7 separate regions of the Homo sapiens genome follow, and regions 1, 2, 3, 5, 6 and 7 are each linked to region 4. The links are contacts of gene promoters, found by promoter capture Hi-C in blood cells and fetal thymus (Javierre and others, 2016). All regions are on one chromosome and are shown on one strand. The core of a region is centred on a gene start or on the middle of the fragment in contact, and the rest is flanking DNA. Distances in the headings are between cores, read along the strand shown. Region 1 overlaps POC5 (POC5 centriolar protein). Region 2 overlaps ANKDD1B (ankyrin repeat and death domain containing 1B). Region 3 overlaps POC5 (POC5 centriolar protein). Region 4 holds the start of ANKRD31 (ankyrin repeat domain 31). Region 5 overlaps NSA2 (NSA2 ribosome biogenesis factor). Region 6 overlaps LOC441087 (a long non-coding RNA gene). Region 7 overlaps GFM2 (GTP dependent ribosome recycling factor mitochondrial 2).

Region 1 (2,700 bases), core at 193-2,692, 450 kb before region 4:
CACCAATTTACCCAGGGGCCTGTTTTCCTCATTCGGCCTTAGATTTCTTCTCTGAGCGAAGGAGATAATATAAACCTTCCTTACCTGCTTCCTAGGGGCTTCTTGTGGGATGCAGTAAAACATATCTGAAAACACTTTAAAAGACAAAATGCACTTTAACGTGTAAGATGATAGTCATGATGTAATTATTAATAGTTTTAATTCAAGTCAACGTCTCAAGATTTTGTAAATGATTAACATGATTTCAATCCAATGAATAACTTCTCTGTGCTTGTGATGCCCTTATTTTAAAACATCAACAAACATTTATTATTTAAAGCATGCATATTGTGGATAGGAGTAAGTTTAGGCAAATTGCTTTCTATCTGAAGTGGTTGTGGTTTGTGGGCCATATTTAATTTAGAAACTGAGAATCATGGAATCTCAAGGCTGAATAGTTTATTTTGGTAATACCTAGGTGAGTACTTGATTTTTCCAATAAATGGTCTTTTATTTGAGTATCAGGGTTGAAAACAAACTCACCACCTTCAATGATAGAATAGTCTGTTTCAGTTCTAAGTATCAGCAAGTTGTGTGTCACAAATTGAGAAATTTAATTGTTTACTTGGGAGAAATATGAGTTTCACAAGTAAAGTGACAAATTCCTATTAGAACTTCTTACATTAAATTACAAGAAACCTGTTTCTTATAACCTACTTAAAAAGATTTTGAATTGACTTAGGAGTATTTCCCACCTTAATACATTTACCATCTTAAAATGTAAATTGAAATGCAACTGTGTCTCCTAAAGGCCAATATCCATAAGAGGATTTGAAGAAAATGTCTTCTGCTAATTACACAACATGATTTCTTTTGCTCCTGTTACTTTTGAAACAATCGATGAGAAAGATGACAAGAATGGTAAAGCATGCATTAGCAATAATGTTGGTAGAGCTACCAAAGGCAAAAAAGTTCAGTATAATTCAGTGGATCTGCTTTGTGATATTTAGGTTTTATGACATTTTAATGACACCTATTTTTTTTAGTTCTCATAAGAAAAAAAAATTACTTTTGGCCCCCTTCTATTAAAACAACTGTTTTTTATAGGCCAGGCGCGGTCGCTCACACCTGTAATCCCAGCACTTTGGGAGGCCGAGGTGAGTGGATCACGAGGTCAGGAGATCGAGACGATCCTGGCTAACATGGTGAAATCCCGTCTCTACTAAAAATACAAAAAATTAGCCGGGCGTGGTGGCAGGCACCTGTAGTCCCAGCTACTCAGGAGGCTGAGGCAGAAGAATGGCGTGAACCCAGGAGGCAGAGGTTGCAGTGAGCTGAGATCATGCCACTGCACTTCAGCCTGGGCGACAGAGCGAGACTATCTCACAAAAAAAAAAATTGTTTTTTATAATGCAGTTTTTAATAATGTAAAGTTCCTAATGCATCTGTCTTGTTAGAGCAAAATAAATATTTGGTTTTTTATTTGTACCGATTCTTTGCTGTCTGTAATTTGCAGTACCTCTCATGTTGTGCAGTATCTTAAATCTTACAAATTAGAGGTTTTTATGAAGAAGTTAGAACATGACAAAAAGTCCTTAAAATTATATCTGCCAATTTTACTGTGCCAATTAGGCACAGTAAAAAAAAATACTTGACAAGTGAAAAATTTATTCCAGCTAAAATGAGATTAATTATTAAACTTAAGAGTTATCTGATATCAGCCTATATTAGCAAGAGTTGATCACCTGCCTCTCTTCCCTGACCTTCATACTGTTTCTACATCTCCTAATGTCTGCCACCATCTAAAGATAGACACTCAGAATCTCTACCAAAACAAGTTAAAACTCAGTGTGTGTTTTGTTTTCAAATTAAAAGTATTTTATATTGAATTAGTCCCTTTCATCAGAGGAGTTCAAAGGATCTAGGTAGGCACTGTAATCATTGTTAAACTTCTTAAATAAGCTAACTAACTAATACTCTGCAAATTTTCTATACAGATAGTCTAAGGAAAGGACTTATGCAGAGGCCCAAATTTCTGGAGGGAAAGAGAACTACATAGAAAACCATTTAAACATACAACTTACATAATGCCCTCTGTTCAGATGTTCTGAAACAGCTCATTGACTGAATTTCTAAACCCTCACCACACTGTTTGATACCACACAGATACAGTCTTAAGCAGAAACTAACCAAATTATAATACTGGAGCGAAAACATCTAAAATTGGAAGAAACCCTTTGTACTAGCCCTGGAATTTGACATTATTGGCTCCTTAGATCAAGATTAAGGTTCAGTTTTGAGGGAAGGTTAGTGATTGGGGTGTCACTACAAATCAGTTAGGTGCACAAATATGCTCTTATGATTTATATAATTTATCTGCAAGAACCCATTTCTTTTACAGTGTAAAAAGTGAAGATTTTAGTTTTATTGATTTATTTTTGTTTTCTGACGACTCAAGAACAAAAATAAATTGTTAGGATAGGCGCAATACATGAAAATGAGGGAGTATAGTGATATCAGAAAGTGGTTCTAAAGATTGATTGCAGGTCATTTTGGCCATCTATCAGGATATTTGTATGAACTAATACAAAGGAACCTAGATCTCCAGGCTCACTGTGATCATATTTTTTGTGACAGTTGTGATGGCAATATACTCTACTTAGCTAAGGTCCCAGCTGAGTACATAATTTATTTTCATCTTTTATTTAAGAACAAATGATC
Region 2 (2,700 bases), core at 1-2,500, 430 kb before region 4:
TAAACTTTCTGAATGACTGTTTGCTTGCCTGTTCCTCTTCGAAAAAAGCCCTTCCAGTTGCCCTCGCTGTGCTGCTTTATGATGACCAGCATTTGCTTTCCCTCCAGCCTGTGCTATGCACCTGCTATGCTTGGCACACACCCAAAGGAGTGTACAAGAGAGAGGACAGCTGTGGTGCCTGCCCAGGGGGAACAATTTTAATGAAATATGCAACTTCTCATAGACCAGTGCTCTTCAAACTCACAGTGCTTATTTCACCTGGGTATCTTACTAAAATGCAAGTTTGGATTCAGTAGGTCTGGGGTAAGAATCCATGCATCTAACAAACTCCCGGGTGCTGCTGCCACTGCTGCTCCATATTCCCCACTCTGAGCAGCAAGCATGCACCATTCATTCTGCCACTCCAGTCTCAAGGAAGCTACTCTGAGGGAAGTTTGCATCCCTGGGCCAGGATTATTCATTTGATAAATACTCACTGCATATCTCAGCCTAGAGAGGTGTTGGGGGAAGTACCGGGATAGGGAGCCACAAAGCCTCTGTGGTTCCCAACAGGACTTCACTACAGGCTCCTTGCTCTGAGAGAGAGTGTGCAGGAGCAGACATGCTGTGCAAGGGAAGGGCCTGAGCTCTGCAGGGGTGAGGGAGAAGTTCACTGGACAGACTGATATGGAGAAGCGGGCATTTCAGGGAGAGGGAACTGCATACTTACAGAATGTACTCCTGGACAAGTCCTCTGTTCCTTTCCTAATCTTGCTCTTGACAAACTAATTTTTCTTAAATACCATCATGAGTCTGTCACTCCTTTGATCAAAAGCCCACAAACTCCCCAGTGCCAGTAACCTTACCCTGGATCACAATATAATTGAATTGCAAGTGTCATTGTTATTGTGCCAACTAGATTATAAACTCCATCAAACATGCATGGCTTAGAGAGCTGATGTATCTATCCCTCATCCAGCAGAAATAAACACTCCAGGCCCTCCATAAAGGTTCCATCGAAACACTTTAAAATCCCCCTTATCCTGCTGGCAAGTACTCTGAAGATACACTATATTTTCAAGTCATCTCTTTAGGTCAAGTTAGAGTTCCAGGAGGCAACTCAATTTTCCTAAAGACTTCACAGAACACTATAAGCCTAATTAATGACAAAAAAGAAATCTTAACAATAAAAAAATTTTTCTAGTTAGAAACTAGTTAGTATTCAATGTTTTCAATACATTATCTTCTATTTTTCACATGAAAATGTATCCTAAGAATGTGCAATACAAAGTCTCATAATTTACTTGTATGTGGTATAAATAGTGTGTGCTCATGGACTGTGCTTCTGCCATCCCCAGTTCCCAGCAATCCCTAATACAAATAGACCCCTGAGCAAGGACACCTTCTCGTCTTAGGATGTCCATGAGAGGGCAGTGCTCTGAATAGAAAACTTTGCCAAGAAACATGTTTGCTTCATTGTTTTCAAAGCTAATTAGTTGATTAATGCCAAGTAAACTTTCTATGTTTCCTAGGTTTTCGTCTAACCACAAAAAACAAAATTAAGGAATCTAGCTGACCTGACTTCACTAATTATGACAGTTTGAGTCCAGCTGAAATGATTCCATTGCTTGGAATCATCTAGCCAAGAAAGCCCTCTGAGTCTGTATTTGCCGTGTCGCTCATGGCACAGCCAAGTCTCCCCTAAGGCAGTGTCCTACAACAACCCTTTCTCCTACACCCACCTGCTTTAAGGAATTCCTCTTTCTGGAGCGCAGACTTAAACAGCGAGCCTATTGATTACAGAATGAACCCATTCACCCCAGGACAGTCTCAAGGAACATAGAAATCAGATTGGCTTCCCACTGACACACCAACTGTTAAATCCTTGCTTGCTTCCTTAGTGACCGTCCAGTTGGGAATCTTACTGTCTCTCTAGGCTAAATGCACATGTCTGATATGGGTCAATACACATAATCATCCTTTACAAACTTCGGTTTACTGCAGACCATGAGTGTTCACTTTCTGCAAATCTTAATGCCCAAATCACTGGTGTGGACCTAAGCTAACTGCCCCTATTCCTGGGCCCCTTGAAGACTGCAGCTTATTGTGAGTGCCACACACTTCCTTGGAAGACCTCACACCAGGAGGCACTGCTGTTCCTAACAGTGAATTCCTCCTGCCCACATCATCTAGTCTGTACTCACCCGACCACTGCTCCTCAATGGCTCTAATCTGGTCATCTGTAAAGTTCCACGAACGGGCCAGCCTCTGCCACTCATTGGCCTTCAGCTGATGGTAAGCCAGGTCCCAGAGAAGCGTGCGAATGTGTCTGGTCTCCAGACTGTGATCTTGCTTGAATGTCAGAGTAAAGCCTGTTGACGGGTCCCTGATGCTCTCATGATGCTCCTAAAGTGAAAATAATTGTATCAGAAGATTTCAGACATGTTCTACTTATTACCTTATTTCAGAGTATATATGTTTTTCAAACATAACTAGTAAGGTGGTAACCGAGACTATGTTTTCAATGCCTCCTGTCACTGGATCATATATATATTTTTTTTTTTTGCCATCCAAAATGGAAATAAATGCTTGAAATTAAAAGCTTGGGTACCGTCTGTCTGACACAGGAAATGTGAGGGATTTTGCCTATTGTGTCCCATGCTGCTTAGAACAGAGAATGAGAACAGAGAGGCTGTCTTGGCAAAGGATGTGTCACAACAA
Region 3 (2,700 bases), core at 83-2,582, 470 kb before region 4:
GAGTAGCTACAACTACAGGCACACACCACCACACCTAGCAAATTTTTGTAAAAAATTTATTGTAGAGATGAGGTCTCACTTTGTTGCTCAGGCTTCAAGCCATCCTCCTGCCTCAGCCTCTCAAAGTGCTGAGTTTACAGGCATGAGTCACTGCACCCAGCCCTCTTCAAACTGTTAATCATAAATATAAAAATCACACAAGAAGCACTCGAGGAACTCAAGCTTGGAATAAGTGGTAAAACTTTGTAATATAATAAGCATGGGACTCTATTATGGTAATTAAATTTCTTTAAAACAAATTCAGTTGAATATATTATAACATTGTAACTGTTACACTACATTATTGATTATTGGCCTCTCTTAGGAAGAATATGAAGAACTGCTTCATTATGCTATAGTGACTCCAAATATTGAACCCTGTGCTTCACAGTCATCTCATCCTAAGGGAGAATTGGTGCCAGATGTCAGAATTTCTACAATTCATGATATTCTTCATAGTCAAGGTTATATATATTTTTCAAGATATCTCTTAATTTAAAATATTACTGAGTTTATTAATGATACTGACAGGATTGTGAAAATGCCTGTCCAGATCAGTGATTCTTCTCAACCATTTATGTGTATTAGTATCATCTAGGGGAGCTTTTTACATTTTAATATATTATTCCTGACTCTCGTGTGACAGCTTGATTTTTCTTTGAACTTCATTTGACTCTTACTTTTATGAAGAATAATAAAGTTGAAGCAATGCTATGGCAACTGCATGGCTTTTTGGTATGTTGTATCTCAGTACTTGTTCCAACAGTTTTATGCCAGGATTAACCTGAAAACTAAATGCCCAAGACTAAAATTAAAGATGGTAACCCTGAGAGTCTCTTAAATTACTTTACAAACCTCATGCTAGTGCTTTATCAGCAGTATTTATATGGGCATGGAGGACTGTTTGAATAATTATCACAAGGTGAACCCATCTGTGGACCATGTCAGCAACAGAACTGAAAGCTACTATAAACCAGGATGTGTGTTGATAGATGAGTGAAAAGTGGAGAAAAGAGGATAAAGCTCCTTTTACCTCCATTCCTTATTCAGGTGAAGACAACATCCCAAACTCTAAATAAATGTTCTTTCAAAGGGCACAGAAAGCCTTCCTAAAACAGTCCTGATAAGGACCAGTTATCACACTATAGGCGTAACTCCAAGGATCCCTGTCCTTGAAGGCGCATGACATAGCCTACTCAGAGGCCAAAGGCTCCTGGGCTTCTGCTAAGTCATAGCTCTAGTGTCTGTTGTCTCTCATTCTCTGTAGACGTGGATTTTTCACTGTTCCTCTGTCTTTGGCCTGTTGCAGTGGAACAACAAACAGGACCACAGGATGAGAGCCTTAAAATACAGGCCAGGCAGTGGCTCATGCTTGTAATGCCAGTACTTTCAGAGGCTGAGGCAGGAGGATTGCTTGAGCCCAGGAGGTTGAGACAAGCCTAGGCAACATAGCAAAACCCTAGCTCTACAAAAAAATTAGCCGGGCAGAGCAGCCTATAGTCCCAGCACCTTGGGAGGCTGGGGTGGGAGGATTGCATGAGCTCAGGAGTTCAAGGCTGCAGTGTGCCATGATTATGCCACTGCACTTCAGCCTAGGCAACAGAGCAAGACTCTGTTTAAAAAAAAAAAAAGAAAAAACTTTCGAGATGCTGTAGTCAACAGTTCAAGGTAATCATCTGGGATTTAAGACCATTGTTCTTTTCTCTTATGTAAGATAGCATTTATTTATTCTCTGCCATTTCCAAAAAGGATTTGAGATTAAAACATACGTTATATAGTAAGTTTAGATATCCTTTAGTCATCTTGATTCACAAGTAGACTTTGTTAAAGTCTTCTATGTAAATTCATCATCCCACATTCTCTTTATTCTTGGTATCTCAGTTGCTTGATAGAAGGCATGGTATGTGGAAATTGGCAAAGTATGTGTAAGCCTCTAACAGTCATTCTTGAGAGGTTTTTCCCAGTTTCCTTTTTGCCATCTGTTGACTACAGGTTCCTGAAGTGGAAGCAAATGTTTTGGGGGAGCCAGTGCCACTTGAGTTTGATTGTGGCTAGTGAAAAGCAGCGGGCCTCTGGAAATACCCAGTGTCATAAGAGAGCAGATCCTTTTCTAAGTTCTAATGTCATTCACCCACTTATTCTCTTAGTGTGAATTGAATGCTATAGTAGACTACATTATCTCTCATCTATATTTGGTGCATAAGTTGGAGCTTATCAATGATATAGTAAGTCTTTTTCTAGTCTCAGATTTTTATCTGTTCTTGTCCTTTGTTTTAGTGTTCCTATATCCCCAGCATGTTGTATTTTGTTTGTTCTAAAATATTATGTACTGCTACCTTCTTAAATTATGTGTGATTAGACATTTTATTTAAGAGTGGTTCAGTTTAATTTTAAAAAGCTTTCTTTTTGGCAGGAAATAACTCTGAAGTAAGAGAAACTGCAATAGAAGTTGGAAAAGGATGTGATTTCCATATTTCAAGTCATTCAAAGACAGATGGTATGATTTTTCTTTAGCTTATTTGTATTAATATACAACATTTTGTGGTTTGATGAATATTATCTATGTAGTAAGAGGAATAATTTCAGCATATTATTTATTAGCAGGATTTTAAAATGCTATTATTGCTAATTTAAGTGATAATATTTAAAATAATTTGATAA
Region 4 (2,700 bases), core at 119-2,618:
TTTTGAGACATGGTATGACTCTGTTGCTCAGGCTGGAGTGCGTTTGCTCAATCATAGCTCATTATAACCTCAAACTCCTGGGCTCAAGCGATCCTCCCGCCTCAACCTGAGTAGCTGGGACTACAGGCCCATGCTACCATGCCCTGCTAATTAAAAACAAATTTTTTGCAGAGATAGGGGTCTCACCATGTTGCCCAGGCTGGTCTTGAACTTCTGGTCTCAAGCAATCCTCCTGCCTCGGCCTCCAATGCATTGAGGTTACAGGTAGAGCCACCACCCCCAGCCTCAAGTTAAGTTTAGAAGATAATCACCAATCAAGCATTTTAAATAGCAGTGGCTTGAATATACATAGTAAAAACACAAAATAATAATAATGATAATAATGGCAAAGCTACTCCATATAGTGAAAAGGGCAATGAATTGGGAAGTCAGAAATCTCTAGCTCCATCCATTTATGACAAAACTTAGACTTTATATGTGCTAGATGCTGGAGACTCCAAGGTGAATACTAAACACTTGCTATGGGAAAACAACTTGGTCTTTTCTTGAATCTTCTTCTCACTTGGCAAGTGGAAGCTCACTTGGCTTTGTTTTGAATTAGTTTGAATTAAAAATGTTCAACTAGACTGAAACACATCAAATATATAAAATTCTAGTACTTCATTAAAACGCAATTGACTACTTTTGGAGGTTGCTAGGCATTACTATTATTATAAAAATTGATAAAAGAGGAAAAAATAAAGCATTTATCCTGCCTTTCCTGCATAATCTGTATTTCAGGTAACCAAAGCGTTGTTGAGAGAAAAAAAAAATGCAAAATACATCACTGAGATTAGTTGATGAGCTAAAACTTCTGATAAACGTATCTGTTTTGTCTACCTCAGAGGACACTTGAGGAGAGGCTGTCAAGGGATTAAAGGGAAAGGAAGCACTTGGTGGGCTGCAAAAACTCTCTTTAGGTCTAAGGTCGCATTCTGGCTCCAGAATGCCAGGGCTGCTGGGGCGGGCAGGAGCTGACAGCTCTTCCCGTATCTGGGGCTCACAAGCATCAGGTGCATGGCAGGTCACCCTCCCGGCCAAGGGTGTTAAGCAGGCTCGGTCTGAGTTCTGGGTGCGCCACGCCTGCCTTTCTGGTCTCTGCAGCAGCAACCCCAGCACCCTCAAAGCCTAGCGACCGAGAATGAGAAACCGTGAAAAAAACACGCAGCGGCAGGCCACGCCCAGAGTAGGCCTGCGCGCGCGCGCGCGGCCTCCCACTTCCGGCCACGGGAGCTGGGGGCGGGGCCGAGCGCTGCGCAGGGCTCCGTCGTGTGGCGAGCGGCTGCCCCCTGTCTGCGACGAGCGGCGGGACCCGCGGGCCGCCTCGCAGACTGCTACCCCGCCGCGCTCGCGGCCGCCTGCGTCCTCCTCAGCAGCCCTGCGACAAGTCCCGGCTCCTGCTGCGATTATATTATTTTTATTTTTAATTCACAATTTCCCCTGGCCCTCAAAGCGTTTTTTTGTTTGCGGGCAAGAGGGAGTTAGAGGAGGGTAAAAAAGACTTTGAATGTGAGGCAAAGATGGAGGAAGGCGTCCAGGCCCCAGACTGGGACAGTGATGAAACTGTGATAGAGGGTTCAGTGACGGAGAGCGACCTGGAAGAAAAGGAGCTGCCCTGGAGAAGGTGACCATCATTAGGGCCACAGTGCCTGAACCCTCGCGCCAGGGCGGCCCAGGTGCCCTCTGAGGGGGTCAGAGTTTTGAGTGGAGATCGTGACCAGAACATGTGCTTGTGGGCAGGATCAGAGCCTTGTGGGGCAGCCGTGCCTGAGCTGAGAGCTTGTAAATAAGCAAACACAGTCTGTTCCCACCTACCCCCAACCAGCTAGGGATAAAATGAGGTTTGTACTAGGTGGCTTTATAGCATTTTTCAAAAGGCTTTCCTTTTGGGGGCTTTAAGTCTTTTTGCACAAGCAAAAAAGATCTTGGGTCTGAACTTAACTGCATTTTGTTTCAGGAGACTTCATTTTGCTTCAAGAGACTCGTAGCTCAGTTCTAGGAAAATGGGTAACAGTTTCTCTCAAGAAAAGAATGTGTGATGGGGAAACTGGTCCCTGCCAAACTGGAAACGAATAGTTTTATACGAATCCAAAAAAGTCGGTATTTCAGGTTATCGAAACCTTTCTCTAACATATTCTCTGTGCTAGACACAGGGAAAAGAGGGCAGGGATGAGGCCACTAGGTCTGCTTCATATGTGCTCAGGGCTGTGTCTGGGACTTAAGTTGGATCGTACACAGAATTAGGTCATTCTCCTTTCCCTCTCTCTCTTCTCCAGGATTCTCCTGCCCCCTTTCCTCATCATACCCACTTGCCAGTTCATATGATCAGAAAGACAGGTTTCTTTGAGTGTTAGCCTTTTCACTATACAGCAGTTCCTTACAAGGGGGACAGCCTTTAGCACAGAGTTAAGAAAAGAGAGAAAAAAGGGGGATTCTGTCCACACTTTTCAGGCAATACCGATCCCTTTTCCCAGTTCCTCTGGTAGACACTTTCTCTTGAGTTTTATGTTCCCCAGTTGCCATGGTTGGTGTCTGCTCTGAGGCTAGGGCCAGCCTTGGGGCAGGGCTGGGAGGTGAGAGAGAAAGCAACATAAAGCCCTGGGCTTTGTCCTATACCTTCTGGCATGCAGGGGTCATTTTCCTTGGTCTTCTGGATAAAAA
Region 5 (2,736 bases), core at 203-2,702, 460 kb after region 4:
GTTTTCATACTTAATATCAAGCTTTCTTTGTACCTTACAAGATAGTATTTTTGGTTCTAAAAAAAACAAGCAAACTTCATTTTTGTAGTATCCAGAAATTACCTGGAGTCAGTATTTTTATTCGCCTTCTAGAACTTGTGATCCACACATCACCCATTTATATTAGTGGTAAAATTATCTGCTAAAATCTAATTGTAAGAAAGGCTTACCTTCTGTCATCAAGTGATTGTATCATCCTGGATCGTCATTTCCAAGGAACTAGCCTTTCTTTTCCTAAGCGTCTGTATGTGTTCTAAAACTTCCAGTATATATTTATAGAACTTAGAAAAAATGTTACATTATTCAGAGTAGCAAGTCTTACTGGAGTACCTATGTTTGTTTTCTTGGTTTTTATTTTTTTTTAAGTTTAAAAGTAGTAATTAAACCTATATTTTGTGATTGTTTCCTGGTCTGTGTTTTTAAATTCCTTTCCTTCAGTTTTCCTCATGAAGATGTTTCAGATACTGAATTTGTTTAGACATTGAATGACTTTGTTAAAGGCACAATTAATCACATTGGTTGTACTCTGAAGACAGACTTCTTTAAAAAAAAAATAAACAATTTAAAACAATGTGGTGATTATAGATTAATGTAATATACGCCATCCTTAAAACCACAACATATAACAGATCACAAAAGTGCTTTCACCAAGTTACAACCGTAAATCCTTACCTTTTTACATCATCTAAGTAACTGCAAATAAATTTCTCCTCAGGGAATCAGTGCAGTCTTCTTTTTCCTTTTAAAACTTAGCTGGAGTTACTTAAACTAATTCTTAATACTATTCTGAAAGTATAAATATATTGTTTAGAATACAGAAAATGCTAAGAGAGTACAAAGACTTTAGTATATTTTTTTCATTTTCATGATTCAAGTAGAAAATAGTGCCAAGTAGGTATTATTATACATGGTAAATGAGATGAAAAAAATGTTTAGAATGTGAATTCACTAGACCTTTGCTGTACTGGATTTCACAGGTGAAAAGATTTCTCTAAGATTTCTGAACTTTTAGTGTCTTCTCACATACTTCTAGTGTAAACAAACACTATAAACTTAACATCTGTATTAATGCTACCTACCTTTTTTAGGATTAATGATTAACGAGATTTTGAAGATACTTCAGTTAAATTCTCAGACACATAATTGTGTATTAACCTTTTTGAAAGGCATTTTCAATGAACACTGGTGGTTTTTTCAGGAAATTGCTGAATACCCACTCACAAATGCAGATATTGATGAAGTAGGATATTTGTATATTTGCTTTTTTTCAATCATTCAGTTTTATGAACATGGGGTCAAAGCGTATTTCAAAATAAAGACCATTTATAAAACTGGACCACTTTAATGTTTACAATTTAATAAATCTCTTCATTGCAGACATGTATGGCTGTTTGGTAGTATTCAGAAACATCACAGTAATGGCAGTTTCTTCAATTGGTGTGTAGTCCTCAATAATTATATATGAAATTGCTGTCAAACCAGTAAGACTGCATTTATACATCCATCATTTTCAGGATTGTTGGTAACCTGGGCATATTTTCCTAAGGAAAACAAAACCAAAAAAGGGAAAAGGGAGGGTTGTTAGCTAATAAAAATTAATTTTAAAGAATATAACTTTTGCCTTTTTTTTCTTTTTGTCTTAATACAGGGTTTCACTCTTATTCCCCAGGCTGCAGTGTGGTGGCGTGATCTGGCTCACTGCAACCTCTGCCTCCTGGGCTCAAGCGATTCTCCTCACTCAGTCTTCCGGGTAGCTGGGACCACAGGCACACGCCACTGCCTGGCTAATTTTTTTGTTTTTGTATTTTGTAGAGATGTGGTTTTGCCATGTTGCCCAGGCTGGGCTCGAACTCCTGAGCTCAAATGATCCGCCTGCCTTGGCCTCCCAAAGTGCTGTGATTATAGGTGTGAGCCACTGCGCCCAGCCATGCCTAAAATATTTCTAATTACCACTTTCAATAAATAAGAAATGAACCATAAAGGATAAATGAGATTTTACAAAATTCAATCATTTAAGGACAAATTTGAGTTCTGAATACAATTTTCATACAAATAGTGTTTTTGCAAATAATGGCCAGCTCCATGTTATTAGTACATTGCATTAACAGGCTTTTGTGGATTGACCTGAGCATTGTCACTTTTTCACATAATTCTTCCTGGAAAATGTATCAAGTTTCAAATGAGTTTCAAGTCAAGGTAACAACATATTTTAAAACTGAGGTCAGCTGACATGAAGTATAAACCAATGACTGAAGAAGTTGTAGCGTGTATTCTTCCCTTTCAAAGAAATTGGATCTGGGTACTAAAGGTAGAAAACTAAGCAAATGAGGGCGTTTAAAATTACTGCATGACACATTTCTGTTTTAATTATTACTGATCTAGTGTGATTATATGTTGTATGCCTCCCTCGGCTCATGGTTAATTTATTCTATTTTTTTTTTACAATTTTTTTTAGTTATAACTTTGCATCTGCTTCCCTTGTAATAAAGAATTTTTATTAAAAAAGATCAAAATATTTTTATTTTACTTATTTTTGAGATGGAGGCTTGCTCTGTCTCCCAGGCCGGAGTGCAGTGGCATGATCTCAGCTCACTGCAAGCTCCAGGTTCATGTGATTCTCCTGCCTCAGCCTCCCGAGTAGCTGGAATTACAGGCACCCACAACCACACCTGGCTAATTGTTTTGTATTTTTAGTAG
Region 6 (2,700 bases), core at 26-2,525, 490 kb before region 4:
GAATAGAGGGAACCGGAATGAAGAGAGGTTGAGACTTGAAAAGCCCAGAACCCTGGAGACTTCCAACGTGCACAGCTGTCAGAACTGGACTCTACAATCAGAAGTCTGGAAAAGTGTCTTTGGGGTTTAAGTAGGAAATTGACTTCAACCTCCAGGGAACCAGCTATGAAGCTTGGAGTGTCTAGAGCAAAGTTACAGAGAGGCCTGATTGTGATAGGGTGAACAATGCTGAAGCTTAGAGCCACAGAGAATACTGCTCTTGCTAGAAGCTAGGACCCTAATTGACCTAGGGCAAAGCGGCCCTGTGGCCAGAAGCATCAATATCACACGGGAACTTGTTTGAAATGCACATTCTTGGGCCCAACTTCAAACCTGCTTAATCAGAAACTCCCAAAGTGAAGCCCAGCAACCCATGTCCTAGTAAACTGTCAAGGTGAGGAAAGAAAAAAAAAGGTTGATCTGAGGAATGTAAGCCTTTTCAAATTATTAGGCCCAGAGAGGCATTGAAATGAGACAGCAATCACACCCTACTCCCTTCTTTGAGCTATGTATTCAACTCTTGAAACTGCTTGCTACTGCCACAAGTTGCTATAAATTAACCTAATGCCACACCGGACACTATAAACAACACCCTATAGTTTAACAACGTCTAGCCAATCACCAGTCAATGTTATTTCTGTAAACCAATGAGAATTCCTGACAGATGACTTTGTATCAGCCCACTCCCTGCCCCCTCTTTCTGCCTTTAAAAATCTACTTGTAACTGCTATTATCTGGAATGTATATTCAGGACAACTTGAATCTATGCTTCCAGGTTGCAATCCTCAAACTTGGCCCAAATTAACTCTCTACTTATATTAATTTTGCTTAAGCTTCTTCCTTTTAGGTCAACACAGGTTAGTTTGATGCACACTAGGGAACACAGGAGACCCAAGCAATGTTGGGTGAGGGGAAGTTTACATAGGGGAGGAAAATGGAATGAAACATATGGGGGTAAGAATAACCCATTCCTGCAAGGTAGAAACTGAAAGGACATTCTCAAAGGGACCATCTCTCAGACCTATCCATAAAACTAACTTGTATCAACTCCAGGCTACAGTAAGACTAGTTTGGCACATACACCAGACATATAAGCTGATTCGCAAACTAAAAACTGGAGTCAGTATCTACCACCTCAGAAGAGAACTCAGGAAATTGAAAATGATTAATAATTACTATGAGGGTTTTTGACACTTCAGGAACTTTTGTAACTTATACAAACGGATTGGTTTTTATACTCCAATCTATTTATCATAATTTATTTATGTTTTTTAAAAAATCTTTCAATGAAGAGACAGTCTATTCTTTATTAGGAGCAAACGAAAAAACAGGGAGTCTGGGGAAAGAACATCCTAATATATGAACAGTCTCAGAAAACGAAGAATTCTAAATAAGAGTGATGGGCAGATATTTTTAGAAGAAAGCAAGCTAATTCTATGAAGACTCAAGACAGGAAAGGGACTTCCTTCTAAAAGATCATTCAACAGAAGGCTGTGCTTCTGCAACATAAAATAGTACATTTCTTCATCAAAGTTAAACATAAACATTTATATAAAATAGCACATTTCTTCATCAGAGTTCACCATAAAGGTTTACAAATAAAAATGGACAAATGGATCACATCAAGTTAAAAAGCTTCTGCACAGCAAAGGAAATAATCAACAAAGTGAAGAGACAACCCACAGAATGGTAGGAAATATTTGCAAATTACCCCTCTGACAAGGGATTAATAACCAGAATATATAAGGAGCTCAAACAACTCTATGGGAAAAAAATCTAATAATCTAATCAAAAATAGGCAAAATATTTTAATAGACATCTCTCAAAAGAAGACATGCAGATAGCAAACGGGTATATGAAAAGGTGCTCAACATCACTCATCATCAGAGAAATGCAAATCAAAACCACAAAGATATCATCTCACTCCAGTTAAAATGGCTTATATCCAGAAGATAGACAATAACAAATGCTGGTGAGGATGTGGAGAAAAGGAAGCCTTGTACACTATTAGTGGGAATGTATATTAGTACAACTACTATGGAGAAGAGTTTGGAAGTTCTTCAAAAAAACTAAAACTAGAGCTACCATATGATCCAGCAATCCCACTGCTGGGTATATACCCCAAATAAAGGAAATCAGTATATCAAAGATATATCTGCACTCCCATGTTTGTTGCAGCACTGCTTACAATAGCTGAGATTTGGAAGCAATCTAAATGTCCATCAACAGATGAATGGATAAGGGAAATGTGGTACATATACACAATGAAGTACTATTCAGCCATGAAAAGGAATGAGATCCTATCATTTGAACAAAATGGATGGAACTGGAGATCATTATGCTAAGTGAAATAAGCCAGGCACAGAAAGACAAACATTGCATGTTCTCAATTATCTGTGGGATCTAAAAATCAAAACAATTGAACTCATGGGCATAGAGAATAGAAGGATGATTAGCAGAGGCTGGGAAGGGTATTGAGGAGCTGGCAAGGGAGATGGGGACAGTTAATGGGTACAAAAAAATAGAAAGAATGAATAAGACCTACTATTTGATAGCATAACAGGGTGACTGTGGTCAACAATAACTTAATTGTACATTTAAAAATAACTAGAGTGTAATTGGATTGTTTGTAACACAAAAGATAAATGCTTAATGGGATGG
Region 7 (2,700 bases), core at 186-2,685, 480 kb after region 4:
AAATTGCAGTTCTCTACCAGGTACAAATGTTAGAGTCTTCTAATTTTATCTAAGCTGTTTGCTTTATCTCTTTTCTCTCTCTTGTTTGCAAGAATCTCCCTTATTAGGGCTCTGTAACCATTTTTTACTTCTTGGCTATTTCCTTGAGATTATTAGGGGCGGGAGTGTTCAGATAGGTGCCAGAAGGAAATACTAGTAGAGTTGTGCTCCTTATCTGAGGAACACGCTGATGAACTGAGCAAAGGAAAGGTTGGTGGCTTTAGTAGCTAGTTTGCAAGTTTAACATGTGAGTGTAATTGTAGAGTGCTCTTGTGAATTTCTTTTTCTAGTTTATTTCTGTTTTTTATGCAAGTGTTTTCTGTCAAGAGAGATTTACTAGAATAATTTATTTTGAGGATTGTTATAAGTAGTTTGGCTAAGTATTTGGGATTGTTTAGGTTAGATACATGGCATCAGAAGCTGGAAGGTGGAGGAGTTGACTTACTTTTGAATGTCCTTTCTGTGTTTGAAACAAGCAAGTGTATGGTAGACTCTATGAAACTAGTTTAATTCTGTTGCTGTTCTCATTACTGTGTTTGTCATGTGAGAATAATAGAATAAAAATACTGATTGGCTGTTGACTTACAAGGGCAGATTAATTTAATGGGCTACGTTATTGGTGTGTATCTAGGTCTCTGAATTTGGCTAATATGAATTTAACTGTAGTAGTATAGATTATCTTTTGATCTTCAAACCACCATGAAGTTTCAAAAATAATATAAAATTCTCCTTTTTGTATTATAGAAACATGGGAGAAATGGTTTAAATAACAGGAAGGCTTTAATTAAATTTACAAATGTAACTGCCTTGTTTCTTTAGAAATTACTTCTTAATATTAGTAAACTATATATTAAGCATAGAATAAGCCATATGGACTTTTTTATTTAAGAAATACTGCTTGGCCTTTCAAAAGTATTAAATTGTTATAGCTTCTATTCAGTGAAACCTCCCAGGCAGTCTTTAAAGGTATTGTGTCCTGGGATTGCTGAGGAAGGCAAGTTCCAAATTGTATAATAATTCATTATCAGCTGACATGAGGATCACTCTTAGCTCTTCAAACCCTGGAAAAGGCAGGTTTATAGGACTGTGCATTTAAAATTTTTTCTTTGATTCAGGATCATTGCCTTAAGATTATTATTATGAGCATTTATTCTAGTTCTACAATTTTGTAAATGGAAGTGAAGTAGGTGGCAGAGATTGGGGTGAATCTGTATTTTTCTGAGGATATGATCTAGAACTTGATGTTTAAAACTTTTACCTTGTTTTATTGTCATCCATAGCTTTCCTTATACATTGCAAGGAAATAAATTTTAGTTTATTTTAGATTTATTTAGCTTGAATTTTACTTTATTTGGACTTACAGTATTTGCTTAAAGTTATTTTAAAGTCTTTCATTTATAAATTAAAGGAAAATTTCATAAATGTAACAGTTCAATTTTAACTTTCTTTTCATTAGGCTTAATAGGAAATGATATCAAATCCCTTCATTCCATCATCAATCCTCCCATAGCTAAGTAAGTACTATCATTATATCATGCTTTTCCATAGACTGTCACGAAAATTTACAGGTTTTTTCTGATGGACAAGAGTGAATGCTGTAATTTCTATGACTTTCTGCCCTAGCCAATTTTAAGTAGATGTTGATAATGTATCTTAGCTATTTTTTCTCAATTAATGCTAAAAATTTTTAATGTAACAACAGCACACTTTTCTAGAATGAATATAAGATAGTCTCAAAATTGTAGGTTGTAGTTAGCCCTTTTGTTACTTAGCTATCTTATCAGAGTAATGTGGATATACTCTAAATGTTTTCCATTTTTCTAGTTTTTACACAGTTTTATAAATTATAGAAATACCAGCTTTGAAATTTGGATAGCATATATACTTTGGTTTTACAATTTTAGTAAAGTTTACCTTATTTTTTCCTTTTAAACAGAATCCGTAATATTGGAATTATGGCTCATATTGATGCAGGCAAAACTACCACCACAGAAAGAATATTGTACTATTCCGGATATACAAGATCACTGGGAGGTTAGAATGGATTCCTCCTCTTCCCACCCCCCCATTAGCAAAAGCATCATTGGAAAATATTTTGGTTAACAAGTCAACTTACACACCTTGAATATGGCATAGAGCTACTGATGTCTAATCCACAATTTAAAGATAAGATAGTTGCAATACCCACCAAAGGGTCTTCTTAGATTCAACTAAATATTCAGACTTGTAAGACTATCATAGGCCCCACTGGACACTCGTCTACTCAGAATGCTACAGGACAGGAACCACAGCTTACCAACAGACCAGCATTAGGTGTTTCTTTCTAGTAGAGTCCTTATAGCAGTCCCCGTAGCTATCTGGGAGCTATCTTCTTTGGCTGCTCCAGAGTAATGGATTAGATGCAAGGTGACAAGATTCATAGGAGCCACCCTAGCTTAGAAGATTCATGCCCCATAGGAATGAATGTCTCTTGTTATAACTTCATAGGCATAGCTTCCAGGTGTCACCTAAGGTACATGCCATACACAGGGAAGCCCAGAGTTCGGTATCTCCATAAGGTACTTATATATATAATTCATTTATAGTTCTTCGCAATTCAGATTTAGTTTACCAATCAGAAGTTGTTTTTTCCATAAGTTATATTGCCTAGGAATGTAGTTG

What was found. The method cuts DNA at HindIII sites, captures the fragments that hold promoters and counts their contacts. A CHiCAGO score of 5 or more calls a contact.
Region 1: a fragment that was not itself captured here is called in contact with the fragment with the promoter of ANKRD31 in region 4 in 3 of 17 cell types (neutrophils, naive B cells and total B cells); the score reaches 9.1 in neutrophils.
Region 2: a fragment that was not itself captured here is called in contact with the fragment with the promoter of ANKRD31 in region 4 in 5 of 17 cell types (total B cells, neutrophils, naive B cells and 2 more); the score reaches 9.4 in total B cells.
Region 3: a fragment that was not itself captured here is called in contact with the fragment with the promoter of ANKRD31 in region 4 in 3 of 17 cell types (neutrophils, total B cells and naive B cells); the score reaches 7.6 in neutrophils.
Region 5: a fragment that was not itself captured here is called in contact with the fragment with the promoter of ANKRD31 in region 4 in 1 of 17 cell types (total CD8 T cells); the score reaches 5.5 in total CD8 T cells.
Region 6: a fragment that was not itself captured here is called in contact with the fragment with the promoter of ANKRD31 in region 4 in 1 of 17 cell types (naive B cells); the score reaches 5.7 in naive B cells.
Region 7: a contact is called between a fragment that was not itself captured here and the fragment with the promoter of ANKRD31 in region 4, in 2 of 17 cell types (naive CD4 T cells and naive CD8 T cells). The highest score is 6.0, in naive CD4 T cells.

The regions. Positions count from the first base shown.
Region 1 is chr5:75,685,715-75,688,414 of GRCh38, reverse strand. All of the region lies in intron 9 of POC5 (POC5 centriolar protein), which reads left to right. Among named protein-coding and RNA genes, the nearest start is that of POC5, 30 kb to the left of the region's middle. The HindIII fragment of the contact is 4,211 bases long and covers 1-2,700 here.
Region 2 is chr5:75,666,477-75,669,176 of GRCh38, reverse strand. It overlaps ANKDD1B (ankyrin repeat and death domain containing 1B), which reads right to left. Exons shown (of 14, transcript NM_001276713.2): 12 at 2,184-2,385. Among named protein-coding and RNA genes, the nearest start is that of POC5, 50 kb to the left of the region's middle. RefSeq lists an enhancer at 1,697-2,198. The HindIII fragment of the contact is 2,666 bases long and covers 1-2,583 here.
Region 3 is chr5:75,705,540-75,708,239 of GRCh38, reverse strand. POC5 (POC5 centriolar protein) reads left to right here. Exons shown (of 12, transcript NM_001099271.2): 3 at 365-503; 4 at 2,453-2,536. Among named protein-coding and RNA genes, the nearest start is that of POC5, 11 kb to the left of the region's middle. The HindIII fragment of the contact is 2,215 bases long and covers 225-2,439 here.
Region 4 is chr5:75,235,546-75,238,245 of GRCh38, reverse strand. It overlaps ANKRD31 (ankyrin repeat domain 31), which reads left to right and starts at 1,368. Exons shown (of 26, transcript NM_001372053.1): 1 at 1,368-1,663. The coding sequence starts at 1,560. It overlaps LOC124901006 (a long non-coding RNA gene), which reads right to left and starts at 1,208. Exons shown (of 2, transcript XR_007058823.1): 1 at 880-1,208. RefSeq lists a silencer at 1,128-1,427 and an enhancer at 1,478-1,647. The HindIII fragment of the contact is 5,895 bases long and covers 1-2,700 here.
Region 5 is chr5:74,775,448-74,778,183 of GRCh38, reverse strand. It overlaps NSA2 (NSA2 ribosome biogenesis factor), which reads right to left. Exons shown (of 6, transcript NM_014886.6): 6 at 1-1,580. The coding sequence ends at 1,513. It overlaps FAM169A (family with sequence similarity 169 member A), which reads left to right. Exons shown (of 13, transcript NM_001376049.1): 13 at 1-610. Among named protein-coding and RNA genes, the nearest start is that of NSA2, 9.6 kb to the right of the region's middle. The HindIII fragment of the contact is 2,857 bases long and covers 24-2,736 here.
Region 6 is chr5:75,726,045-75,728,744 of GRCh38, reverse strand. All of the region lies in intron 2 of LOC441087 (a long non-coding RNA gene), which reads right to left. Among named protein-coding and RNA genes, the nearest start is that of POC5, 10 kb to the right of the region's middle. The HindIII fragment of the contact is 802 bases long and covers 875-1,676 here.
Region 7 is chr5:74,758,222-74,760,921 of GRCh38, reverse strand. GFM2 (GTP dependent ribosome recycling factor mitochondrial 2) reads left to right here. Exons shown (of 21, transcript NM_032380.5): 3 at 1-20; 4 at 1,496-1,553; 5 at 1,976-2,073. Among named protein-coding and RNA genes, the nearest start is that of GFM2, 7.5 kb to the left of the region's middle. The HindIII fragment of the contact is 4,143 bases long and covers 1-2,700 here.